Linked DNA regions of Homo sapiens: regions 1, 2 and 3 are each linked to region 4. The links are contacts of gene promoters, found by promoter capture Hi-C in blood cells and fetal thymus (Javierre and others, 2016). All regions are on one chromosome and are shown on one strand. The core of a region is centred on a gene start or on the middle of the fragment in contact, and the rest is flanking DNA. Distances in the headings are between cores, read along the strand shown.

Region 1 (2,763 bases), core at 50-2,549, 3.8 Mb after region 4:
CATGTTGGCCAGGCTGGTCTTGAACTCCTGAACTCAGGTGATCTGCCTGCCTTGGCCTCCCAAAGTGCTGGGATTACAGGTGTGAGCCACCACGCCTGTCCAACAAGTATTAATTAAATGAATAATGGGTTAAGGATTTTTGAACTTTGTCCTGAAAATGATGGTGGGTCAATGATGCAGGGTGGAACAATGGATGAAGGGCTAGGAAGCAAGTCATCAATTTCTTGCTATAAATGATGACAAGGACTCGAATGGTCATCCCTTTGTAGATGAAAGCAAGAGACTTGGTGTTGGGATGAGGATGAGGGGTGGCCTCCGGGTGATGGTGCCATCTGTGGAGATGGAATAAGTGGGAGGAGGGGCAGATTTAGGAAAAGATGAGTATTTCCATTTGACACATATTCAAGATTTGTAGGTCTAAAGCTCAGCAGAGAGGCTGGGGTTAGAGAGCGAGGCCTGGGAATCCCTGGTGTATAAGGGGTGGTAGAGGCCCCGGGTCTGGATGGTGTGACACAGGTGGTCGTCAAGTGACCATGCACTACTTGTTGTTCACAAGTCCCAGGGCTTTGTCTCCCCAGCAAGACTGGGTATTCTTTGGGGATGGAAATACTTTCCACTACAGCACTAAGTACACAGTACACAGCTCATTGCTAGGAAGATAGTCAAGAACAGAACTTGTAGAGCAGAAAGGAACCTTCAAAACCAAGTTATAGGAGAGAACTGAGGCCCTACATGGTTAAATCACATGCCTGAGGTCACTCAGCTAAGCAGCCACAGAGCTGGCTGTAGGATCAGGTCTCCAGACTGCCAGTCCGGTACCCTTCTGAGAAGGCCGCACTGCCTCAGAGCTGTGAGTTGAGTGAGCTGAGAAAGGTGACAGGGCTTGGGCTTTGGGCTTACTTAGCTTCTATGAGCCTGCGTTTCATAATCAACAAGATTGTCAGGGGTTAACTGGGACCATGCTGCATGTAAAGCATTGTGTCTGGAACACAATAGGTGCTCAATATGTGTTTACTTTCCATTCCTTTCTTCCAAGAAGACCAGAATTTGCAATGACAAAGAAAGGATGCAAGAGTGATGGATGCAGTTGGCTGCTGCCACCTGAAAGGCTGCAAGACTGAGAGGTGAGTGACATGACCCCGGGCATCACATTCCTCATCAGCAGACAGAAAGTGGCTATTGCTTTCCTCCAGAAGGTGTGCAAGTAGAAGCTTTGCTCCTGGTGCCAGAGTGAGCCTGTGGCTGCTTTCCCTCCCACACTCCTCACTCCTTTCTTGGCTCCGCCCTGCTGACTCAGTGACGCAGCAGGAGGAAACTGCTCGGGCTGCAAGCAGTCTTCCAGGCTTTGCGGCTGCCAAAGGAATAATTGAGACGTCTGAGTTGAGCAGGTAAGGCAGGCAGAAGGAGGAAAGCTAGAAAACCTCGATAAGTCGATCCTGAAGAATTCTTGGGCTTTGGAGACTGGAGAGGCCAGGGGCTGGAGGACTTGGGAAGTGGGAGGGGAGCTCCCAGCCCTTGGCTGCCCGGAAGGATCTTCCTCCAGTGCCCTTCCAGAGTTCTGTCAGAGTCCACACGTCATTTATCCATGTCCTCAGTTTCTCAGGCATCTCTTTGCGACTTACTCAGGTCGCACAGAGAAAGTGAAATTGAAAGCAGGATTGTCTGTTGGAGTACTTCCGCAGGCTCGTCTCTTCTCTACTCTGATGCGTCACTCAGGGCTTCCTTGATATTTCCTCTCCTTCCCGGCTCCTTTGTTTATACCAGCCCACCTCACATCTGATTGTAATGGGGACGGTCTACACAAACACTTTGGTTCAAAGATTTCATTGCCTGGTGATCGTGTATGTGTTGCACAATTAATTAAACTTCTAAGAGGCTAATCAATTAACCTCTGAGGCTTTGAAACTGTCAGAGTGGTGAGATTGCTGAAAAAGGGTTGCTTCGTGAATTCTATAGCAGATGCAGTTATTTAAATATTCAGGTAACAGTTTCGGGCTGTCTGATGATTGAACTGGATCTGTAATTCTCAGATCTGATTGACAGTTGGACGAAATTGATAGCTGCCAGTTGCCTATTCGTGTAGTAGCTATATGCACATGTGTAGGGAGAATAGAATTCACTAAGCAATTTATTTTTTCATAACGGGATATAATTAGCTCTAACATTCATTGAGTGGCTAATATTTGCAACACTCCATACTTTAATGTACTTTACACACATGACTGTATTTATTTTTGTCTCCATTTCAGGAAATAGAAAATTGAGATTCAACAATCCAAGGTTACAGGAAGTAATAGTAAAAAATTACACAGCCACAAGCTCAAACTTAGATCTCCCTAAGGTCAGAGTACAAGCTCTTTTCACTACTGCAGATACTCCTTGACTTATGATGGGGTTACATACAGATAAACCCATCCTAAATTGAAAATATTGTAGGTCAAAAGCACATTTAATACACCTAATCTACTGAACGTCATAGCTTATCCTAGCTTACCTTAAATGTGCTCAGAACACTTACATTAGGCTACAGTTGGGCAAAATCATCTAGCTCAAAGCTTATTTTATAATAAAGTGTTAAATGTCTCATGTATTTATCGAATGCTATGCTGAAATAAAAAACAGAATGGTTGTATGTGTACTTGAAGTGTGGTTTCTACTGAATGTTTATTGCTTTTCCACCACTGCAAAGTCAAAAAATCATAAATCAAAGTCAAAAAACATAAGTCAGATATTGTCTGTACTTTAAATAGGGGCACAGGGTTG
Region 2 (2,815 bases), core at 74-2,573, 3.5 Mb after region 4:
GTTACTTCAACAACCAAAGCCTCCATGGCTGCCCGGAGACCAGTGATACAGGCAGCAGCTTCATGAGATATTTGCAGTTTAATCCTAAAGTGGCGAAATACATTAAAAATAAGAGAGGGAGTATATGTAGAAAAAGACCATTATCTCTCAACTTCACACATGGCACATTATAGAATAAATTTAACTTCTTAAGCATTAATATTAAAAAAAAAAACTACTTATAATGGCCCCAAACTTAGGCAAACACAGATATGAAGAGTAGTTATAATCAGCACTAGCTTCTTAAAATTCACTGCTAGCTATGAGCAGGAGTCTTAAGCCAAAAAGTCTATCAAGCCAAATAAAATATAATAAAAATATATGCAATATATAATAAACAAAAAACAAAGTCCAGCAATATGGATCATTCAGACTTTCTTTTTTTTTGAGACAGAGTCTTGCTCTGTTGCCCTCGCTGGAGTGCAGTGGCGTGATAGCTCATTGCAACCTCCAACTCCCAGGTTCAAGTGATTCTCCTGCCTCAGCCTCCAGAATAGCTGGGACTACAGGTGTGCGCTACCACACGGGGCTAATTTTTTTGGATTTTTCGTAGAGACAGGTTTCACCATGTTGTCCAGGCTGATCTTGAACTTCCTGAGCCCAAGTGATGTGCCGCACCCAGCCAGATCATCCAGACTTTAAAATAATGAATTTAAGAGACCCAGAATACTGGCATTTTCTAGGTTTTCAAGAATATGATGGCTGAGCCTACTGGCTGTCCATTAAGCTCTATTCCATTTTTGCCCAGTGCTTACCACTAGTTTTGAATCAATATACAGAGTATGTGAAAGGGTACTCAAGCTTCACTTAGATTCTGATTCCATAGTGGTGGTGTGCCTAGTGGTAGACATGGCTCAAATTCCTAATGCATTTGCTTCTACTGGTATCAATTTAAGATTAAGTATATAGTATATAATTAAGTTAGATATAATTAGTATATAATTAAGTTAGATTAGCAGCTGAATTCCATCATATTGTAATTCTAAGAATTCAGTTTGGAGTTCACATCTGAAAATCCATACCAGTCATCTACAAGCACAATCTGCCCATCAGATTGGACTTTCTTGGAGGCAAAGAGAAGCAACTGCAGGGGGGTGACTAAAGTCATGCCTTTAGCAGAGATGGCTCGAGTTCGAATCTGCAAATGGAGAAAGAGACAATACAAAATGGTTGACATTCCAACTTCCAAATACCGCTATATACTGTGCTTTGAAAATCAAAATTCATGTTCCTAATGATTGTAAAGACAATTTCAACTTTCAATGTAAACTTTTCTAGTCTTTTCTTACCTTTTCACCAAATACAAAGAAGGGAGATGGGTACTTCATGTCTTGGCTACTAAAAGGACAATTAACAGATGATTTGTGGATAAGTGCATTACGCCCTTCAGTGGTGAGAATCTTCCTCTTTTCCTTATGATAGCATACATTGGGGTACACACCAAAGGCCAGGAGGGAGATAACAACATCCAAATTATTATCTGGTCCAGTGTTAGTAAACACTTGTGTCAACAAACAATCTGTTAAGAGGAGCACAGTGAAAACAAAAATCAGATAACTGGCTGATCTTCACATTACATGCAAACTATTTAAGATAATTCAGAGAACTGACTCTTCCTCACTCTTTTCACATAACCTGTCTGTAAAACTTTCTCTTCTCAGAATCCTTACACCCAGATTAAGTTCAAGGAGTAATGTTACTGAGTTTCCACAATAAGAAAACGAAAACGTCTCTATTCTCTTATAGACTCAACCATAAATAAGCTTGGGGTGATTACTTTTTTTTTTTTTTTTTGAGACGAGTCTCGCTCTGTCGCCCAGGCTGGAGTGCAGTGGCGCCATCTCTGCTCACTGCAAGCTCTGCCTCCCGGGTTCATGCCATTCTCCTGCCTCAGCCTCCCAAGTAGCTGGGACTACAGGCACCCGCCACCACGCCCGGCTAATTTTTTGTAGTTTTAGTAGAGACGGGTTTCACCGTGTTAGCCAGGATGGTCTCGATCTCCTGACCTCGTGATCCACCTGACTCGGCCTCCCAAAGCGCTGGGATTACAGGTGTGAGCCACTGCGCCCGGCCGGGGTGATTACTTTTTAAAGTCCCCCAATCAACCATCTACTCTGAGAATAAGAGCTTGACTGATAGGACCACAAAGTATTTATCTGCTACTCTTAAATAGCTGTTAGTTGTAGAGAAGATGGAGATAATCTAAGAGGACACCTACTGGAATGAAGGCTGACGTTTTTACCCAGTCTACACTTTGAGTACTTAGCTACTGACTGGAAAGCATGACAGTCAACCGCTGAAAGCACAGACATATTTTGTTCTAGACAAACGAGTTCTAGTCTTATAGCCTCCTAATTGGATGAATTAAAGACAATTTATACCTTGGTGCCTGTTTCATTACCTGTAAAATTCATCTCAAGATTCTAGCACATGAAGTTTTCCCTTTCTTATAATTTTGAGGAAAAACTAAAATTTCGGCTGGCTTATGACAGAAGAGAACCACTCACTACTTTGTTTAGTTATTCCAATTACAGCCTTTAAAAATTTACCATCTTGCCCAACTACCTTCTGTCTCTCAACAGTCTTATTTCTGGTTATGCATTCCAGTTCTCAATGTTTTAGGAAGTAATTCTATATTTTAACCTAGTTGGAAAAGAAAAGTACTACAGCTCATCAAGAAACATGGGTTGGTTTTTTTCTATGTTAGATGTCATAAAGTCCTTTAATCATCTGTACACCGAAAGTATAAATTAAAGTCATTTAAAATTTAATGTGG
Region 3 (3,086 bases), core at 250-2,749, 3.5 Mb after region 4:
GCCAGAGGCCCCTACCTCAGAATTATTTTCTGTTAAAAGAAAAAAAATTCTCTTAATGAGTCATAACTGTAGAAAAATCCTAAATACATTAAAGAATTATCCTAATTTATGGCCGGGCATGGAGGCTCACATCTGTAATCCCAGCACTTCCGGACGCTGAGGTGGGTATCACGTGTGGTCAGGAGTTTGAGACCAGCCTGGTCAACATAGTGAAACCCCGTCTCTACTAAAAATACAAAAATTAGCCGGGCATGGTGGCATATGCCTGTAATCCCAGCTACTAGAGAGGCTGAGGTGAGAGAATCACTTGAACCTGGGAGGTGGAGGTTGCAGTGAGCCAAGATTGCACCACTGCACTCCAGTCTGGGTGACAGAGCAAGACTCTGCCTCAAAAAGCAATCATATGAAGTAGATACTACTGCTATTCAATAAACAGTAAATATGAGACTTAAGCAATATGACCCAAATCCTAATCTACCATATGGTAGACATCCCAATAAAAGCTGTGACTATACAGTAAATCCTCAATTAATGTCGCTGCTAGGTTCTTGGAAACGAAGACTATAAGCAATGTTGTAAGATAATAACATTGAAGGAAACAAAGTTATTCAAGGACCTACTGTAAGTCATTCTGCAATGGCCTGGATCCACAGGGTAAACAAACAAGTCAACAATATATTTAGTAAGAATAAGGAACAAGAAAAGGCAATTCATAAGATTCTTTCACCAAATATTCTAGCCTGTGGAAAACCTATTTATTCAGAGAAAAATGTAGTAAAAGCCAATGACAGCAAAGAACTATGCTGTACCACATGTTCTAAGAAAAAAATAAATGATCTGGTAATATGTGCAAATTTATGAAGGCCTTGGGTTGTCTCTTAACATCAAGAGTTTACTGCAGTTCTTTCTACCCAAAACGAGAAACAGAGATGGTGATCAAGATTGTGTATATCTTATTCTCCACCACGTGCATGGATTCAAGTCCCTTACCTGCTTTGAGAGCCAGATGTGGAGGAAGAGGTCCTCCCATGGTTGTTGGTAAATCTCCTTCAGCATTTGCTGTAGTGTCAGGAGTATCAGTAAGTGGGGGCGGAGATGCTACCTGCAAAAGAAAAAGTCAAGGCAGCTGTCAGTGCTTTTGCCTTCACGGGGACTAGTAAATTCTTTTAATACTTAAAAGGACCCATGTGTCATACCTCCTTTCTTTGTAATATTACCATCTTTGTTTAGAGGTTAAGTCTCTAGAGCAGTGCATCTCAAAATGTCTGCAATGAAGAACTGGTTGTTTCCCCTAATCCACTGGGAACAACCTGTCACAATACTGTATTTCTAAATGTTTACTCATTTCTGTACTTACCTCCTCACAAACTGTAACATTTTGAGTAACACTGCTCTGGGGCTCATTTTTAGTAGTGTTTACTACCTTAACACCTTTTAAAGCAGTCAAAAAAGTATCTTTCTACTCCATTTCTTAAGTATTTTATTGGTCATTAGTGTTTAATTTTATCAAATACTTTTTCAAAAGCCTTTATTAAGATGATCACGGAATAGATATTTTTCTCTTATAAGATCATTAGTACTACGTATTAAGAAAGTTTAATTACAGGGTTTTGCCTCAGATGTGCTGTTACATAAAATATATTGGTTTTCTAAACTAAGGAAAATTCTGAATTCTTAAACCCATCTAACCACATGGGTTTTAGGATGAAGAACTGAGATCTATACAACCTTTTCCTTAACTAGATGGGATGAACTATTTCTGTTTGCAAAGAACATTTAAAAATTTGACTTATTTTTACTTTCTAATTCAGCAATTTCTGATTTTATCGCTATTAATTTCTCCTGTTTCATTCTGAGATGAAAGCTAATTCATTCAAAAAGCTGTTTTTTGTGCAATAGTATAACTATTATTATTTTGAATAAATGATTGTTCCTCTGACCACTCCAGAGTTTTGCCAGACACTTATCTAAATAGTCTATGATCATAATTTAAAATTTTCACTTAGATCTAAATTCAAATTTCCAATTGTCTCTTAGGGTTTTTTGGGCGCTTTGTTACTTTTTCACATTACCACTTTGCTTCTGCCAATATATATAGCAACATGTCTAATGTTGTGTTATTAGTACATTGTGAATTTTTTTCTTTTCTGCTTTCTTCTAGAGAGCTTATACCTTGAAGGATAGTGTTCCTCCAAGGTTGGGGTTATGGAGACAAAGTAGAACCTATTCAAGGGTCAGCCCTAATAACCAAGGCACAGGAAAAATTCACTGGGCAGTCCTGGCACCACAATGCTAACTTGTCCTCCTCTTTCTACCACCTTGCCACTCCAGGACCTCAAATTCCCCTCCACCTCACTCTCTATCTACACCAACCTAAAAGAAAATTCCTAACGTATGAGAATTGAGGTGTCTGATGTAACTTCTATTTTCCAGTGATGGGGAGGATTTCCTTTTTTAACATTTCAAAATCAATTAAAATAGGTGAGGTATAAGAGTATTGAAAGTGTCACAGTGCATAATCTTGGCTCTGCCTAAGGAAGAGTCAGCAATGTGAGAAAATACTTTTTCAAGTAGGTTATAAAATAGTATACACAATATATATTTTATCACATTAAAATACACATGTAACTATCTAAACAAAAATACACAGATTTTAGCAACATTGGCAATGCTATAGTCCATTTATTTCTTTTTCTATTCTCACAATCTGTTCCCATTTAAAACCTTTTTTTTTTTTTTTGAGACAGGGTCTCACTGCATCACCCAGGCTGGAGTGCAATGGTGCAATGACAGATCACTGCAGCCCCAACCTGTTGGGCTCAAGTGATCCTCCCACTTCAGCCTCTCGAGTAGATGGGACTACGGGCAGCCACCACCATTCCCACCTAATATTTCTATTTTATTTTTGTAGAGATGGGGTCTATGTTGCTGAGGCTGGTCTTGAACTTCTGGACTCAAGAGATCCTCCTGCCTCTATCTCCCGAAGTGTTGGTATTACAGGTGTGAGCCACCACGCCATTTTTCTTTTTTTTGAGACAGGGTCTGGCTCTGTCACCAAGGCTGGATGATTTAGCCTAGATAATAGT
Region 4 (3,018 bases), core at 394-2,893:
GGCTCTGGTTTCCTAATCTATAAAATAAAGCATTTGAATCCTAGCAGATCTGAAAACCTATCTAATTTTAGGATTCTGTGAATCTAAGTACAGAAAAATCTACATTTCCCAAATGACAGATCAACAGTATGATAATACTGTGGGCTTAGGACATAGCATAATACTTCATATACCAGCAACTTTAATTACAATGCTTATCTAAAAAATATTTTTGGGGAAAAATCAACCTTAAGCTCCGCTGTTGATTTATTTTTCCTTAGTTATTACAAAATATCATAAAATGCTTCCATTTATATTTCTTAGACGGCTTCACAACATGATTCAAAAGTAAGAACTAGAGAAAAAGAATAAATTTCATATAAGAACTAAATCACCAATTCACAGAAGGCCCACGACTGTGGGAACTGCAGAGAGACGACACTGGGAATGCATTATTTACAATGAATAATTTAACAAATTCTTTCATAAGAGTAAACACGAAACAATCTACGGATTGAGCTTTAAAACTACAGAATTATGATCTGGAACCATACAAGTTCTGTTACTGTAGAAATTAACAATGTGTTTAAAAACTTCAGTTACAACAGTTTTCAATTTTAAAAACAATATAATGTTAGGTAACCGTTTCTGCAACGAAAAATTTAAAACATAGGCTACACTCAAAGTGCTACCGGTTTCTTTTAATTCTCCTCCTGAAGAATTAACCCGGGTCCTTAAATTCCCGGGTACTGAATCACTCAGTGCCACCTCCCCACCACCAAAAACCATTTAGGTACGCCGTTTCACACAAGGTAAGTTCGTCAGAAGTGTGTGCCGGAGTGACTGTCCATATGGTTCCAACACTGTCCCTTCCTTTTTCTCTTGAAAAGAGAGCACACACACACACACACACACACACACACTACACTTAGGCTGACTTACCTGTTTTCAGAATGTGCACTCGTGGCAGACAATTACCTCGGACGGTCTCTCCGCCGGAGATGGGGGTTTCGGGCCCAAGTACCAGCCTCTAGGGGCCAGATTCCCTCCGGTCTCAATTCACTGCCACTGAATTCATCAGAAAGCGACCTACTTCCCACACCTCACTTCCCACTCCAAAGCCAGGGACTTGGGAGTCAGGTGGCGCAGATTGATGACGTAAAAGCCCCCCCTCCCTTCCCCGCAGAGCCTCAGCCAAAGCGACTGCGGTCGCCACCCCGCCCCCTTCTGGGCGCCATAGAGAGCGTGGCGGTATCCCGGAGCCTGCCGTCCGGCCCTACCGGGACCGATGCCCTCTAGTGGCTCAGTGTCCAGAAGCCGCCAACGAGGACGATCCATGGCATCCCGGGGCTTTGACGGTAAGGTCACCAGCTCTTCAGGGAGGGCCAAGGGGTGACGAGTACGTATGTGGCGCCACCGTGCGGACAGCGGTTACGGGGCCGAGATAGGAGAGCCAGGGGAGCGGGGAGAAAAACGGAAGCTGAGAGGGCGGTGCAGCATTGGGCTCCCGGAAAAGAATGAGAAAAACACTACATTTCCCAGAGCCCTACAAGGCCTGAAGTGGGTGGAGCTGGAAGCCGGAAAATTGGGTGCGCAAGAGGATCAGGGATAGCCTCTGAGCTCGGGTTCCCAGGGTTCGTAGCTTCCAACGGCTGCGCGCGCACTTCGGTCGCGGGCGGTGAGGTGCTGTTGCTGAAACGCTGCCGCTGAGGGTGGACTCGATTTCCCAGGGTCCCGCCGCGGGAGTCTCCGGCGGGCGGGCGCGCGCGAGCCACCGAGCGAGGTGATAGAGGCGGCGGCCCAGGCGTCTGGGTCCTGCTGGTCTTCGCCTTTCTTCTCCGCTTCTACCCCGTCGGCCGCTGCCACTGGGGTCCCTGGCCCCACCGACATGGCGGCGGTGTTGCAGCAAGTCCTGGAGCGCACGGAGCTGAACAAGCTGCCCAAGTCTGTCCAGAACAAACTTGAAAAGTTCCTTGCTGATCAGCAATCCGAGATCGATGGCCTGAAGGGGCGGCATGAGAAATTTAAGGTGGAGAGCGGTAAGTGAGATGCTCTTTCCGTCCTTGGTTTTGGGCTCGACTCCCGCCCTTTGGGTCTGGTCTTCCCCCATCAAGTTGGCACTGGGTACCGCTCTGTTAACCTCACTTCCTGGGCTCTGTGGATATCCTGAGCCTTCGCTTTCCTGCTCCTTACAGTTTGATAAGAAGCCTTTGAAAAAAAAATCTGAATCTAAGTTCAGTAGCATTTTCTTTGTAGTTAGGGTAGGCTCATACAGGGACGCTTATTTTCCTTCGTCCGGCAGACGGGAAACAGACTTGATAGAGTCTGCGAACCCATCTCTCTAAGCCTAGAGTACCTTATATGTTTTGTTGCACTTCAACTGATAGTGGCTCCGCCCTATTTTCTAGGCACCTGCATTCTAGGCCTTTGCCAAATTGACCACTCTGTGCACTTGTTCTTAGTGTGTGCGTCGTCCCGTGGCTCCAGAACGAATCAGATGTTTACAAAAATGAATATTAGGTGCATAAGAGCGCTGGAAACACAGTGAATGTGCAGTACATAAATTTAATATATCTTGATTTCTCTTAAAAAGTTGGAGTTTGATAGAAAACATTAAAATTTTCTTGTAATTACCTAAAGTAGGCCTTTAAGTAAGAAAGTTACTGACAATAATGGCTTGAACATCCTTGAAAAAAATATGAAGAATATAGTCATTACCATTAGTAAAATACAAACTTCCCGTTAATGTGTTTTGGTTTACCATTTGTTTGGGGAGGTTCATACTGTTCTTGCTAAGTTGACTGGAAATTCTGAACAAGTTTTTACTTCAAAAAAAGTGTAACTGTCAAGCAGAATTGACCTTGAAAATTAGTTCTCTGATCCCAGAGCTGAGTATAGTACATTGCATTCTATTTATTAATTTGCACCATAAATATTGAATGTCTTACATGTTCCTGATACTATGCTGAACATGATATTCAATCCCTTCCCTTGGAAAGTTTACACATTTACTTTTACATATATTTAGTAGTTTTATGC

What was found. Contacts are between HindIII fragments. The CHiCAGO score rates a contact against its expected background, and 5 or more counts as called.
Region 1: a contact is called between the fragment with the promoter of RNASEL here and the fragment with the promoter of TPR in region 4, in 2 of 17 cell types (total CD8 T cells and total CD4 T cells). The highest score is 6.2, in total CD8 T cells.
Region 2: a contact is called between a fragment that was not itself captured here and the fragment with the promoter of TPR in region 4, in 4 of 17 cell types (total CD4 T cells, naive CD8 T cells, monocytes and 1 more). The highest score is 11.5, in total CD4 T cells.
Region 3: a contact is called between a fragment that was not itself captured here and the fragment with the promoter of TPR in region 4, in 6 of 17 cell types (total CD4 T cells, monocytes, total CD8 T cells and 3 more). The highest score is 13.9, in total CD4 T cells.

What each region holds. Positions count from the first base shown.
Region 1 is chr1:182,587,792-182,590,554 of GRCh38, reverse strand. It overlaps RNASEL (ribonuclease L), which reads left to right and starts at 1,299. Exons shown (of 7, transcript NM_021133.4): 1 at 1,299-1,388. RefSeq lists an enhancer at 1,424-1,583. The HindIII fragment of the contact is 1,344 bases long and covers 1,214-2,557 here.
Region 2 is chr1:182,881,882-182,884,696 of GRCh38, reverse strand. It overlaps DHX9 (DExH-box helicase 9), which reads right to left. Exons shown (of 28, transcript NM_001357.5): 25 at 1,329-1,558; 26 at 1,062-1,177; 27 at 1-84. Among named protein-coding and RNA genes, the nearest start is that of DHX9-AS1, 44 kb to the right of the region's middle. The HindIII fragment of the contact is 962 bases long and covers 843-1,804 here.
Region 3 is chr1:182,850,249-182,853,334 of GRCh38, reverse strand. DHX9 (DExH-box helicase 9) reads right to left here. Exons shown (of 28, transcript NM_001357.5): 4 at 991-1,102; 5 at 1-29. Among named protein-coding and RNA genes, the nearest start is that of DHX9-AS1, 12 kb to the right of the region's middle. The HindIII fragment of the contact is 3,288 bases long and covers 1-3,086 here.
Region 4 is chr1:186,373,878-186,376,895 of GRCh38, reverse strand. TPR (translocated promoter region, nuclear basket protein) reads left to right here and starts at 1,643. Exons shown (of 51, transcript NM_003292.3): 1 at 1,643-2,018. The coding sequence starts at 1,868. It overlaps ODR4 (odr-4 GPCR localization factor homolog), which reads right to left and starts at 1,058. Exons shown (of 14, transcript NM_017847.6): 1 at 922-1,058. RefSeq lists enhancers at 1,029-1,218, 1,389-1,438, 1,599-1,898 and a silencer at 2,459-2,508. The HindIII fragment of the contact is 6,872 bases long and covers 1-3,018 here.